2 separate regions of the Homo sapiens genome follow, and region 1 is linked to region 2. The links are contacts of gene promoters, found by promoter capture Hi-C in blood cells and fetal thymus (Javierre and others, 2016). All regions are on one chromosome and are shown on one strand. Each heading gives the region's core, a stretch centred on a gene start or on the middle of the fragment in contact. The rest is flanking DNA. Distances are from core to core; before and after follow the strand shown. Region 1 holds the start of LCE2D (late cornified envelope 2D). Region 2 holds the start of LCE3A (late cornified envelope 3A).

Region 1 (6,870 bases), core at 1,610-4,109, 40 kb before region 2:
CACATGGACACATGGAGGGGAACATCACACACCAGGGCCTGTCAGTGGGTAGGGGGCTAGGGGAGGGATAGCATTAGCAGAGATACCTAATGTAGTTGACAGGTTGATGGGTGCAGCAAACCACCATGGCACGTGTATACCTATGTAACAAACCTGCACGTTCTGCACATGTATCCCAGAACTTAAAGCATAATTTAAAACAAAAAAAGTTAGATGGGAAATTATTCTGTGTATGGAGGGTTAGATAGAGAAAGGAAGTTGCTCACTATGAAAGGAGCACATGGAGGCCCAGATAGCAGGCCCACTGGGGAAGGGAATGGCCGGTGGGTTGCTCTTACTTAAGGCAGAGGTCCCTGAAAGCACACTTGGGTGTCCACCTCTCTGTAGGCCAGCCTTCAACTGCCCCGGGCAACCTTAGGTCCCATGCTTGGCACTCCATTTTGTACTGTTTGGTTTTTTCATTTGTTTTGCTGCTCACATGTAAACACTAAGGACAAGGGAAAACTTCTTAACCAACTCAGGAAACCCTGAAGCTATAAAAGCGAAGAAAGTCATATTTGAGTATATAAAAACTAAAAATCTTTCCATAGCAAAAGCTATTATAAATGGATTCAATTAAATCTGATGCATTAAATATTTTAATAAACACAGATCAAGGTTAATATCCATGATATATCAAGAGCTCTTGAAAATTGAAAAGAAAATTTAAAATCATATTACAAATTTTGTAGAAATGGCCAATGTACATATTTTTAGAAGCTCAAAATTACTACTGGTCAGGGACTTGAAAATTCAGTTAATAATGAGACTGGAAAAAATAATGAAGAGCATCAAGTCAAATAAACTGACTCAGTGCAGTGGGTGATTTAAAATGCGGAGAGTACAGAATCTCAGACTGGTTAAACAGCTGGGTGTTTGTCTTAGCAGCAGTAAGGATGAGGAGGCAGATGAACATCTTAATAAGAGACTCCACCTCTGACAGAATCTCTCTGCACTGAATCCATCATCTTCATGTAGACACCTGTCAGCCTGAACCTAAGAAGCACTAGTCCTTATTTCCCCCTGCTGTGTCCCTTTTCCCTTCACACTGAGAGGAAGAGACGCCAGGTGTCTGAGAGAGCAAGTCAAGAAGTGAATCTTAACCAGACTCACCCTCCTGGGAAGGGAGTTCACTGACCATGGGCTGTACTTTGCAGGAGGAGGGGTCTCAACATTCGTTTCAAGCATTTTATTCAACTATTGATTCGAACAGCAGGGAAGTTTTGCTTCATAGAGATGTGTTCTTCTCCCTAGAGAAGAACAAGTCTACAGAGCTTCCCAACCTTCCCAATGTCTGGAATACACAGAAAATTAGAACATATGTCTGGCTTAGTGGGGACAAAGTCAAAGCTGCCGTTGCCAGAGGTGATCATCTTGGAGCTCCATCTACCCTGCAGTTGGGGTAATCAGTTCCTCGGAGCAGCCTTTCATGTATCACTTGCTCATGTCCTGTCCTTGCCTCATGAAGAGAATTTCTCTGGGGCCCTGACCGTTAGAAGACATTAGAAATCTCAGAAGAGAAGAGTATGACCAAGACATTTAAAGAGTCAGAAATCAGAGCTTTATTACAATATGAGGTAAAGGAGAAAAAGAAGGCTTCCATCTGGGGTGCTCCATCAAGCACAAAGTTCTGGGGAAGCCCCATGAGTCTTTGTGGTCCCTGTCCACCCATGAGTGGAATGAAAGGAAGGGGAAATAGTTAAGCATCAGGCTGTAGCAGGTTTTTGACCATTCAGTACCAGAGCTCTTCTGCAGCCCAGGTCAGCAGCAGCCCCCAGAGCTGTGGCAGCAGCCAGAGGCCCCAGAAGGTTCACTCTCACAGCAATCGGGGCTCTGGTGCCGGCGCCGGTGGAAGAGACGGGGCCTGTGGTGGCTCAGGCAGCAGCCACCACCCCCAGAGCTGCAGCAGCCCCCAGAGCTGGGACCACAGCAGCTCCCAGAGCTGGGACCACAGCAGGAAGAGACTGCAGGGGAACATGGAGCTGGGCACTGTGGTGGGCATTTGGGGGGACACTTAGGTGGACATTTTGGGGTACACTTGGGAGGACATTTGGGAGGGGGCTGGCACTGCTGCTGGTTTTGCTGGCAAGACATCCTGGCAGGAGTTTAGTCAACCTAAAAGATAATAATGAAACTCTTTAAATATTTCAAACCAAAGGTCATAATTATGCCTCCTCTAAAATCAATGCATGTGTAGAAGAAGAATGATATTTAGGTAATACAGTCACATCAGTAACCTGAAAGAAACAACTTGAATCTTTCTTCCAGATAAAAGTACATAGATTAAAAAATCAACAGAATGAGCTTCATATTCTTCCTTTCAGAGGGAAGCTGGGATTGCTCTATCTTCACAAGCCTGAATAGAGTATTCACAGCTCCATGAAGTACCTGTTCTCTTAATACAAGCCCCAGCGCCCAGATGGGTGCTGTAGACACACCAGGGATCCTCTGGAAAATGTTTAGCCATGAAAACTCCAGGTAAAAGGGCCTGGCCTGAAGCATTTGACAATTTCCATGGTGCAAATCTGCCCAAGATGGCCAACATGAAGTCATTGAAGACAGAGTTGGGAAAGATGGGCACAGTTAGCTATTCCCTTCTACGTGAGCTCCAGCAAGTCCCAGAGCTTCTAGAGATTTGAGGCAAACTGAGTCCTATTCCTGCTCAGTATGGGAGAACACAAGCGCACAACTATCTTTCTCCAGCCTACCTCCATCCTCCCCATCCCTCTACCTTGCTAATACCCTTCTGGTATCCCAGGTTGCCACTCACCCTGGTCACATGCAAAAGCACAGACACGTCCCTGGGGAGTCAGAGCAGATGAGGTGCTGAAGCTGGATGTGTCTTTTATAGGACTCAGACTTGGCTCTGGGAAGAGCAGGAGGTGGCTCTTGCACAACCAGGCACGTGCTGGGTCATTCCTGACATTCTCCTGTCTCCTAGTCCCTGCACCCAAAGAGGCCTCGGGAGCTTCTAGGACTCCTCTCTGGGGCTGTGGTCTAGAGAGGCTTTAGCCAGTCAGAGCCTCCAGCAGGTGGGAGCCCTAAAGAGTTAACTTAGGGAACCCAAGGCACCCATGCCTGGACATGGTTCTGTTCCTTGCATCTTTTTTATTCCTGTCCTCTGAGGTTACATCAGCTCTGAGCCACAGCATTCCCTGACCTTGTGGAAATGTTCCATTATGACTCCCTGCACCTTGAGCAGTTTGTCTTCCATGTCCTGCTGTGCATCCAGCCATCCCAGGGGGCTTCTACAGCCTTGGCTCTTTCTAGGCATCCCTCCCTTGACTAGGCTCACAGTCCTTCCTCTCGGCCTCTGAGTTTCTGCTTTTCCTCAGACTCATCATGACAAGCTTTCACTGAATTAAATCTGAGTTGATTCTGTCTCCTAGAGCAAGGAGAATGATTGAGAATAAGCAATTCCCTCTAAAATCTAAACGTTTCCTTTAGTCGAAGCAATTGTATTGAATCCATTGCCGGAATCAGGAAACTTGCATATGATAACTTGGTAACCTATAGAAGTAGCTAGAACAATTATCAACAATTGCTAGAGTGTCATTATGATACTCACTATGAGTATCAGTTCTCATATGTAATGGCCATTATAAACCAGATATACCTATCTCACTGAGCTGTTTTGAATATTAAATAAGAAGTAAGAAAAAACTTGGTACAACACTATATGCCTGATAGACCCTTAATAAATATGTGTTTCAAAGAAAACTAATGCCATGTGTTGGGTACTTGCCCAGGTCTTATGTGTCATTAATTGCCTGTATAGAGTCCTTACCCTCAGAGGGTTTAATTCAATCAGACACTGAGATTATTTGAAACCTCTCTTGGGAAGTACACATCATTTCTTGGGGCTCCTATGCAGAGGGAACTCCTTTCCTACCAGGAAGTAGAGGGTCAGCCAGGGGTCTAGTTATTCAGAGTTCTGATTCAGGGTTGCACTAGACAGAGTTACCCAGTCATTTATTCATTTAGTTTAAACAGATACATTGAGTGTGAACCTTGAAAACATTACACTAAGTGAAAGAAGCCAGTCATAAAAGACTGCATATTGTATGATGTTATTTATATGAAATGTGTAGAGTAGGCAAATCTCTGGAAATGAAAGGGGATGAGGCTTTAGCCAGTTACAGCCTCTCCCAGGCTGGACCCCTGAAGAGCTGACTCAGGACATCCGAGGAATGGGAGCCTGGACGAGATTCTGTTCCCTGTATCTCCTTTTATGTTTATGCCTGTCCTCTGAGAAATATCAGTGGCTTCCAGGTGCTTTAGCGGGCTGGGAGAAATTGGGAAGTTACTGCCAATGAATACAGGTTTTCTTTGTGGAGTAATGACAATGTTCTAAAATTGTGGTGGTGATTGTCCAACTCTGTGAATATACTGAAAACCATTGAATTTACACTTTAAACAAGTGAACTATACAATATGTGAATTACGTCTCAATAAAGATGTTAAAATTAGAATTGAAAAAAATATTCACACCTCTGATTAAAACAGAAACAGACCGCGCCTTCACATTGCCTAATGCCTACTTATGGGGGAGGGGAGGATGCGGAGAAAGTATAGTTTCCCATTGTCAGCTTCTAACTGAGGGATTCTATTCTCCTAGTTATCCAATCCTATTATCAGATCTGATTCCTGCTCTCAGGGAGCTTTTACCTGAAGGATAAAGTAAGTCAACAGTGTGACCAGGGCAGTGAATTCAAAAGGCATTCTTTGAAAGCCTACAACATTCTTGGATCATGTATGTCCAAACATACGGATATAGAGGTGAATAATAAGTAGCCCATGACCTCAAGGACTGTAGAATTTTGGCCCTTTTGAAGATGACTGCAGACAAACATGGGTACCAAAGAAGATGACGTTTGGGGACTGAACCTCCTGAGTCACTATTTCCCAATGTGATTAAAAGATGTTAGTTCATTCCACTGTCTTCATGGTGATATCACCCTCAGCTTCCTCATACTCTTTGACAAAGATATTTGTAACAATGTTGTAAGTGAGGAAGTAGGGGAGGCAAGCCTGTGTGTGCGTGTGTGCATGTGTGCACTGTATGTGTGTATGCTGTATTCATATAAAAGTGCAGGTGAAATGAACATGCAGATACATGAACATCTGTATTGAGTGGTTGAATAAGCAATGGAAGAGCTAATGGGATCTGATCCCCTGGGAAACCAGAACTGGGAGATAAGCAGCTCTTTAACATGTCCCCTTTGTCCCTTTATAACTCAGAAAATGTTGAGAATTGGTTCACAAGTCAGTGAAGAAACACCTGCCTGCAAGTATTCTTGCTTCTGTCTCCACAGTCCTCACACCATCATATGTGATCCCTCTGAGCCAGGAGACCCTGTGTCAAGTTGCCCATGTTCCCTCAGGGACCAGCCAAACCATTGCCACACGAATGTTGGCAGGATCAATGCATGATTGCAAGACCTCATGAAGGAGCACATAGGTGTCATAAGAAGAATGGCCTGGGGGTGATTTCAGACATTTCATCTGAAGTTCACCTCATCTGGAAAGTCAGTATCCTGCAGGCTGGTCTCTCCATGTAGCTCCTTGATTTGTCTCCCTGGGAGCTTAAACTGCATATATTCCAGAAAATTATTCCCCATGAAATGCTGGAAATTTATTTTAGCCACAGTACAAGAAAAAGCCTTACCATGTATCTTGATGTATCTCACCTTATTTAATAGATTCACTAGTCCAAATTTTCCCTTTACTATATCTTTGTAGTCCTTTTGATCTTCTTGTTGATACTGTCTGGCACTGTCTGGTTTGGGCCTGTTTTCACTCCCAAAAGAGTAAGTGTAGAGATAAGGGTTTATTTAACTATAACTTCCAAAAAGTTAAAAGTATATTTATATATGTTAATATATAGCAGACATATATCAAAGATTTGTTTCACTTGTTAATAAGGGAACCAGCATGATGGTAATGCTGGTTCAAAGAATTGGAGACAACAAATTATATACAGTCAGAGGAAAAAATTCTAAAACAAGATTGCAAATTTAGATACATACTGGTTACAGTTTTAAAAGGCAATGAAACCATGAGGTTATAAATCTTCTGTAAGTTCAATCTAGCTTTACAGAGTCTGGGCCTTAATCAACACCACATATTGTAAGCAAAATCATCCCACCAATTATTTTTAAAAAAATCTAGAGTCTTATAAATCTTAGGCAAGGTTGTTAGTTACTAGGAAGAAGTGAAAATTTAAAAGACTGATCCGAAATTACTTTTTGGCTTAATTTTAAGTTCTGGACAATTTTATCCCCTAATTTTTAACAAGAGATGATTTCACAGGAAAGTGGGGCTTGAGAACCCAGGTCCAGAATGGCTCTTTGCTGAAGTCACATTTGGTGATAGACATTAGAGGGCCATGAACTCCAGGCAGAGAACTGTTGGAGAATTCATGTGTCGTGGTCCTGCCAGAACTGGGACTCATTTCAGGTCTTGATATTAGCATAACTTTTAAGAGATTTCCTAACACTGTCCTGCATCTGTTTTGCCTCATCTGGGACCTGCCATTTTCCTTAGCTGGTTGCCAGAGTGAGTTTACCACTGGGGGCCATTGAACTGGCTCTCGACAGAACCATGTGGGAGTCTAAAGAGCAACACCAGGAGTATGGAATACGAGAGGAGAAGAGGTCCCTGCTATAGGGAGCAGGACAGCAGAGGGGTGTTCTGGGCAAAGCAAGAATGGCCCATCTAGTAACTACATACATATTTATATGACCTAAAGAAGATGGGTTTTATACTTATCTTAATTCATCAATTCCATGATACACTCTTCTTACATTTGTTAACAGCCCTTAAATCAGC
Region 2 (7,252 bases), core at 1,113-3,612:
GACACTAAAACTTAACAAAGCCTTGAGGACCCCATTCAGCATGTTCCTAAAAACATGCTTCTGGCACACCTGTCCTAGCCTTTCACCAGCTTTCCACCAGGAATTCCCACTCTTCCATTCATAATTCTGCAGAACTATTTTTTTTTTTTGAGACAGTCTTGCTCTGTCACCCAAGCTGGAGTGCAGTTGCGCGATCTCAGCTCATTGCAACCTCTGCCTCCCCAGCTCAAGCGATTCTCCTGCCTCAGCCTCCCGAGTAGCTAGGATTACAGATGCCCACCACCACACCCAGCTAATTTTTGTATTTTTAGTAGAGACGGGGTTTTGCCGTGTTGAACAGGCTGGTCTTGAACTCCTGACCTCATAGAACTCTTAAAAGAATGCATGGTATTGCAGTTTGTTCAAAGTGGAGTGATAGGCAAAGGGGAAGAAGGAACTAATATCCTCTAGCAGTGTATTTTGTACCAAAGAACAAGCATCTTCAGGCTTTCATATACTCTGATCAAAATAACATTTTGCTTAAAATTACAATATAATTTAAATTCATGATTATTAGAAACTTAATATTGTCTCAATTGTGATTATTTTCCTTGGAAGAATATATAGTATAATAAAGATTATTTTAAAATTCATTACAGTGGTTTTTATTTAGAGGCTATGGCATATTGTATTGTATTATTAGAGATGAATTCACTGATAAATTTATCACTGATATAACTAAAACCAAATAGTAAATAATATTCCATTTTTATGAATTCATCATATACAAACTTCAAGCATTATCACAGGTATTCATTAAGTGAAATGCATACAACCCCATCAACCTCATCATTATCAACAAATTCAAAGAAATTTTAATGAATTACTAACATAATATATAGGATTAAATTCAGCCTTGCACATTTCACAGACAGCCAAAAACGGATGCCCCTTTTTTCCCATTAAGTGTGATTTCTGTTGATCCCACAGATGGAGGTCACATTTTTATACCATCTGCACCTCCCTCCACTCTACCCCTCTGCCCCCACAGTGCCCAATGCCACCTTTAAGATGCCATGATATTCCCTGAAGACACTACCTCTCAAGCCATGGCCCCAGCTCCATTCTTCCACCCCTTACTCAACCCAGGTCCAGTGAGCTCAGTGCAGCCAACATCTCAGGACACAGGGGCTGATTCCATCACCTATGTAAAGGAATCCACAAAGCAATGGGGACTGACACCCAAAGGCAGTGACCCCAGCCTGCCATGTTTGTGCACACTTGTGCTGCGTCGCTTAGCACATAGGATGTGATTTAATTGCTCAGTTGTCCATCTGGCCTTCTGAAAAGCTGTGAGCTAGTCAAGGGGAGAAATGTGTTCTGTTTGTCCCCATATTACCAGGCCCCACAAAGGACGTACCCTGGCTTCAGAGCATGTGAGCTGAATGAAGAAAAAAAAGTGGAACAGCAGCCAGAGGGCCTGAACGGTGGATAATTGGACCGTCATCGAGATTTCCTGCTTCCCTTTTGTCATTCCTCAAAATATGCGCCTTAAGAATATGCTGAAAGCCTGGTCCTTGGGAGTGTGTGGTGCTTCCCCTCCCTTTGGGGAGCAAAGGAGGACACATAGTTGGGCTGTGCATCATAATACCCAGGATAAAAGGGCTGAGGCCCTGGGTTCCTCAGTCCACAATCACCTCAGGAAGAACCTTCTCCTGCCTCCACCAAACCAGGTGAGCGTCCAGCTGGCGAGAGGACCTGGGCTGAAAGGGCTGCGCAAACACGTCTGTGCTTCAACAAGGAGAGGGGAGGAGGCAGACACGGTGGAGGCGGCAGAGAGGCTGTGGTGGGTGGCCGGCTGGGACTGGGATGGGAGATGGGCGGGATAGTGAGGAAGACAGACAAGTCTGCGAGCCACTTCAGGGGCTCCGCGATGCTGCGACCTCTGAACCCCCTTTTCCTCATGTGCGCAGAGATGCGTTGCCTCCTCACACCCTGCGCTCACAGGCGTCCAGAGAGACGCCACCCTGGAGGGTCATGGGCGTTGTGTTCACGGGACGCCTGCAGGGGGAGCTGTTCGCATCGGGTCCGGAGGTGTGACAGGCCCCGCAGGGCGTGCGCAGGAGCCCCAGAGGCCCACCCAGGAGTGTCAGCTGCCTCCCAGGCAGGGGAGAGGGCCGGAGGAAGGGGCAGTATCAGGCCGGTTTAACTTCAGATCCGTTTGCATTCCCCTTCCCCAGGTCTTAGCTGGAGGGCAGACTGAGTTTAGGGGAAGGGATCCACAATTAAACCAAAGCATGAGGAGGCCCTGGCCTGAAACCTGCATTGACACGTATTTTGCTTTGCTTTTATTTTGCCCAGGCTCCCTGACCTCCTGCCTAGATGTCCTGCCAGCAGAACCAGCAGCAGTGCCAGCCTCCGCCCAAGTGCCCTGCAAAGAGCCCAGCACAGTGTCTGCCTCCAGCTTCCTCCAGCTGTGCCCCAAGCTCTGGGGGCTGTGGGCCCAGCTCCGAGCGCAGCTGCTGCCTGAGTCACCACAGATGCCGCAGGTCTCACCGTTGCCGTTGCCAGAGCTCCAACTCCTGTGACAGGGGAAGTGGTCAGCAAGGCGGGAGCTCCAGCTGTGGCCACAGTTCTGCGGGCTGCTGCTGACCTGAGCCACGAGATTAAGTAAAAATATTTGAGAAAAGAAAGTGCCAAAATGACTGGAACCAGCCCTAGCCTGGTGCTTCTTTGCTCCTGTCTCCTCTTTCCTACTGAGATGTTCCTTGATGAGTTTCAAGTACTCCCCCAGGGGATTTATCCTGCTGGTCTTAGTGTTTTCCCTCCTTCTTTAATATCCCTGTGCTGTGAAGAATAAAGCTGTGCTTTCTCGTTGCAAGCTCTGTCCAGTGCGTTCCCGTCTTTGCCTTACAGGGGCTGCCCCACATTGGGTACATAGGCCTATCTTAGGAACAGACACAAGTGGGTCATACACCCCTCAACTCACAAAACCCTTTTAGGGGGGTTGTATATTAGTGTGGGAATGAGGTGAGCAGTCTTTCACAAGGTCAAGGACAGAAGCATGAGTTGGAAATAAACACAGAGCTCTGGAAAACAAAGGGAATGAGCTTACTGGGCCCGTTCAGATCCTTCCGAAAACACTTTGGTAGCTCAGCCCTAGATGGCAGAGAAGAAGAGAAGCTCCAGATGGGAGCAGGTCCTTGGTCCTCTGGTTCCTCCAACTCTGATACTCTGTAGTCTTCATGACCCAGGACCACAGCAGCCCCCAGAGCTGTGGCAGCAACTGGAGCCTCCAGAATGCTCTGTTGGGCATGTCAGTGGGATCTGTGGGCCCATGGTGACTCCGGTAGCAGCTTCCTGCAGAGCTGGAACCACAACAGAAATAGACTGGCAGCAAACAACCAAAAGGATACTTGAGGGTTAGGCACTTGGGAGGGGGCTGACAGTGCTGTTAGTTTTTCCTTTCAGGACATCTCAGCTCAGTGATCCCTGGAAGAAATGAAAAAGTAAATCATTGTTTTCTATCTATCTATCTATCTATCTATCTATCTATCTATCTATCTATCTATCTATCTCTATCTACCTATCTGTCTCCCCTTGTCCCTCACCGTCTTTCTCAGACCCTGACCCTATGACCCTAAGCTCACGTTTTTGCTAACCTAAGGGCAGCAGGGAAACAGGGCCTTGGGCAGGGATGAATTGGCTCAGAATGTTTGCTGATCAAGGTATTTTCTCCTCCTACTTTGATTTAGAATCAGAAAAAAAGGAGATGGGACATGGAGAGTGATGATAGTGATGGACTCTACTCCAAGTAACAGCTCTTCAAACTCTAGCCCCTCAGTAGGAAATTCAATAATTATTCAGTAGATGCCCAGATGTTTTCTGATAGAAGGGAACCAGGAAGTCCCTGTAACACCCAAATATCTGGCCTTGATTATCAAGACTGTTGAAAACTAATTGTCTATACTATTTTATTCATTAATTAATTCATTCAAACAACAGGAATTGAGGACACAGTTCAGATATATGTTGACACAAAGGACTCAGAAATGTGTGAAATATGATTCCCATCCTTGAGATGCCGACTGACAAGTCAGCAATCCACTTATGAGCTGGAATGATATGGACTGTTACATAAGTGTGTGGGAAGTCCATGGGACTTATCCTTTGGATGGTAACCCCCTGTTTCCCTGACAAGAGTGAAGTGTCCAGACATTGTCACTAGTATCATTTGTGGGTGTTGGGTGAGGTTTCTGGCCTGCAAAATGACCTTTGATGGTCCTGTGATGGCCTAGCTAAAGTGACTAAGAGGAACTAATGGGACCCAAGAGCCAGGAGTCCCTGGGCAGAAGGTTTCCTGGCAGAGGGAGGAAATGAAGCTGCCCTTTGAGAGAAGTTGGATCTGAAAGGGAAGCAAGCTAAGATAATGGGAGGCAGAATAGTGTGCAGGCCAAGAACATGGGCACTGGAGTCGGACATTCCCATTGCCTCCCCTCTTTTAAATACCAGGAGAAACCTTGAAGAGTCTAGGGGAAAACAAAGCTAAAAAATAAAGGCAAAATGAACCAGAAATGCTGGAATTAAAAGCTGAGCCACCAATTAGCAGTCTAGATCTGTGACATGACAGACTTGCAAATCTAGCAGTCTAGATCTGTGACATGACAGACATTGCTTCAGCATTTACTTGACTGCACTATTGATCCAAGAGATAGGAATGGTTCAGACACAGGGATGCTCATATCACATTGGCCAGAACGCTTTAGGAAAAAGGAGGGATTGAATGATAATTGATGGGAGAAAAAATAAAGTGATGGACAATAGTGGTAATTAAGTTTATTTCACCAGTGTTTCTGCTGAATATAAATGACAGATGTATACTATTTTCCCATTGCATTTAATTTTTTTTAGGTGGAGTCTCACTCTGTCTCCAGGGCTGGAGTGCAGTGGCATGATATCTGCTCACTGCAACCTCCCAGGTTCAAGTGATTCTCCTGCCTCAGCCTCCTGAGTAGCTGAAACTACCACGAGCCACCACGCCTGGTTAATTTTTGTATTTTTAGTAGAGATGGGGTTTCACCATGTTGGCCAGGAATTAGATAATTATCTGGCATATGTAAATAACTTTGATATATTTTGGTAAGACATCATTATTGCAGCAATAGTTCTGAACATTCTAGTTCCATAAAGGTTATAGGAGTGGCCACCCTCTTCAAAGCTTGAATATGTTACAAGCATGACCAAAATCTGAGTCTTTTCAAAACACTGTGGGAACATTAATTTATACTAGGGCTTCAGCAACATGTAGAGTGAACTGACAAGAGGGTGAGGATTTGGCTGATACCTATTTGTGATGATTTTAAAGCATGGTTCAAATTTTTTTTGACATTCCTCTCATTGAGAAGTTAGGCCTATGTCCACTTACCTTGAATCTAAGCGGGCTTGTAACTCCTTTAACCAAATGAATATGGTTGAAATATGCTATGTGACTTCAAAGGCTGGGTCACAAAAGGTCATGCAGATTCCACCTGGTCCTCTTAGGAGGCTGTCTCTGGGGAAGCCAGTTACCATGTAAAAAGTCTCGCTATTCTAAGACCATCATGCAAGAGAGGCCAGATGTAGGTCCTCCAGGTGACAACCCCAGAAGAGGGCTCAGCTGGCATCCAGCATCAACAGCCAACCATCTGAGTGAGACTTCTTGGATGTCCAGCCCAGTCAGCCTTCAGATGACCACAGCTCCAATCAACATCTGACGACAAATGCATGAAATGAGAATTGCCCTGCTGAGTCCTTTCTGAATTTGTGACCCATAAAATTGTGAGAAAACCAAGATGGCTGTCATTCCAATCACTTAGTGTATTGTTTCACATCACTAAGTTTTGGGGTGATTTGTTATGTAACAATAGGACACCCACTGATTTTCTGCCATCAGCAACTTATGTTCTTCCTTCTAAAGTTGTTGGCTCTGCTGAGGTGCCAATAGCCACTAGATAGCTTTCTTAGTCCCCCCAAAATTCACCACTTTCATGCCTTAATGTTTTTCCAAGGTTTATCTCACCTACACTGACACTCATGACACACAGGGTATGATAATCCAACTGAATGCAGAGCAAGGAAAATGTCAGCCTGCAACATGCCCAGTCGATGTCTGCTCCAAGTAAAAAGAAACTTCATCTGTTCCCATTGTATCTACAATGCCTAGAGTGGCACCTGGCATGGGAGATACACTCATTGTTGGGAGAAAAGCTGAGTGTTGGGAGACAAGCTGAGTCAGGGCTTGGAACATGTCTGGGTTCCAGGATCTAAAACCCCCTTGTGGCCTCTGGAATGTGTCTAGACTTGCTGGCTCCTCGCTTCTAGCATTCCCATTATTGCAAGTAGCCATATGTTTCAAAGAAAATGCTAAACCATCACAGCTGTAGCTCATTCACTTAATACATTGCTTCCTTTCAACCCCCACATCCTCACCACCTGTTTCTTTGATCACAAATAAATAGCATGGGCTCCCAGAGCTCGGGGCCTTTGCAGTCTCCATACTAGCATTGGCCCCCTGGTCCCACTTTATTTCTTAACTGGTCTTTTCTCATTCCTTTGACTCCACCGGACTTCGTAGCCCCCCCCCAGCCTGGTGTTGGGTCTGATCACCCCAACACTCATCAAATGTTTGTGCAATCTCAGTCTCTATGCACCCTGAAATGCACACAATTCCTGTGAATTTTAGGCCAACTAGCTTCATCAATGCTTGTGGCTTTGCATGTACAACTTAGCTGAATGTGGGACTCAGGTGTTCCCATAAGGAGCTTGCCCATCCTTTTCCTTTTTTCTCCATTATGTGTTTTAATTCTGACTTTTAAAAAGTACTTCCCAAGCATGTCTTAAGTGTACCAGAGCAAGAAGCCTATTACATTGATTCAAGTCTACTCAATTGTAAGCTTCAAATCTCTGTTCACTTTCTCAGAGAACCCTTCTCAGCCAGTTAAGTGATTTGACTAGCAGAGCAGATTTGACTTCAACTTTCAGTTATGGTTCCTTTTGACACTTTTCATTCCAGTTTCTTAAGAAATAATGTGTCCACATATATTGGAGCAAAACTGATTTTTCCAGTTTGCCACTTTTTAAAAATGAAATTAAAAAAAGTATTATAATCAGTTGAATTCCCAAAGTATCATATAGGTCTTATTCTCTGTCTAAAATGTCCAAGCTCAACCTCTAATTTCTCTCAAAAGTTTCTGCTTTGACTGTAGCCACAGCTATATGATTTGTTTTCATCTTT

Evidence for each region. The method cuts DNA at HindIII sites, captures the fragments that hold promoters and counts their contacts. A CHiCAGO score of 5 or more calls a contact.
Region 1: a contact is called between the fragment with the promoter of LCE2D here and the fragment with the promoter of LCE3A in region 2, in 5 of 17 cell types (naive CD4 T cells, total CD4 T cells, total B cells and 2 more). The highest score is 7.1, in naive CD4 T cells.

What each region holds. Positions count from the first base shown.
Region 1 is chr1:152,659,369-152,666,238 of GRCh38, reverse strand. It overlaps LCE2D (late cornified envelope 2D), which reads right to left and starts at 2,859. Exons shown (of 2, transcript NM_178430.4): 1 at 2,810-2,859; 2 at 1,580-2,154. The coding sequence starts at 2,133. The coding sequence ends at 1,801. The HindIII fragment of the contact is 10,570 bases long and covers 1-3,391 here.
Region 2 is chr1:152,618,213-152,625,464 of GRCh38, reverse strand. It overlaps LCE3A (late cornified envelope 3A), which reads left to right and starts at 2,362. Exons shown (of 1, transcript NM_178431.1): 1 at 2,362-2,631. The coding sequence starts at 2,362. The coding sequence ends at 2,631. The HindIII fragment of the contact is 6,916 bases long and covers 1-5,199 here.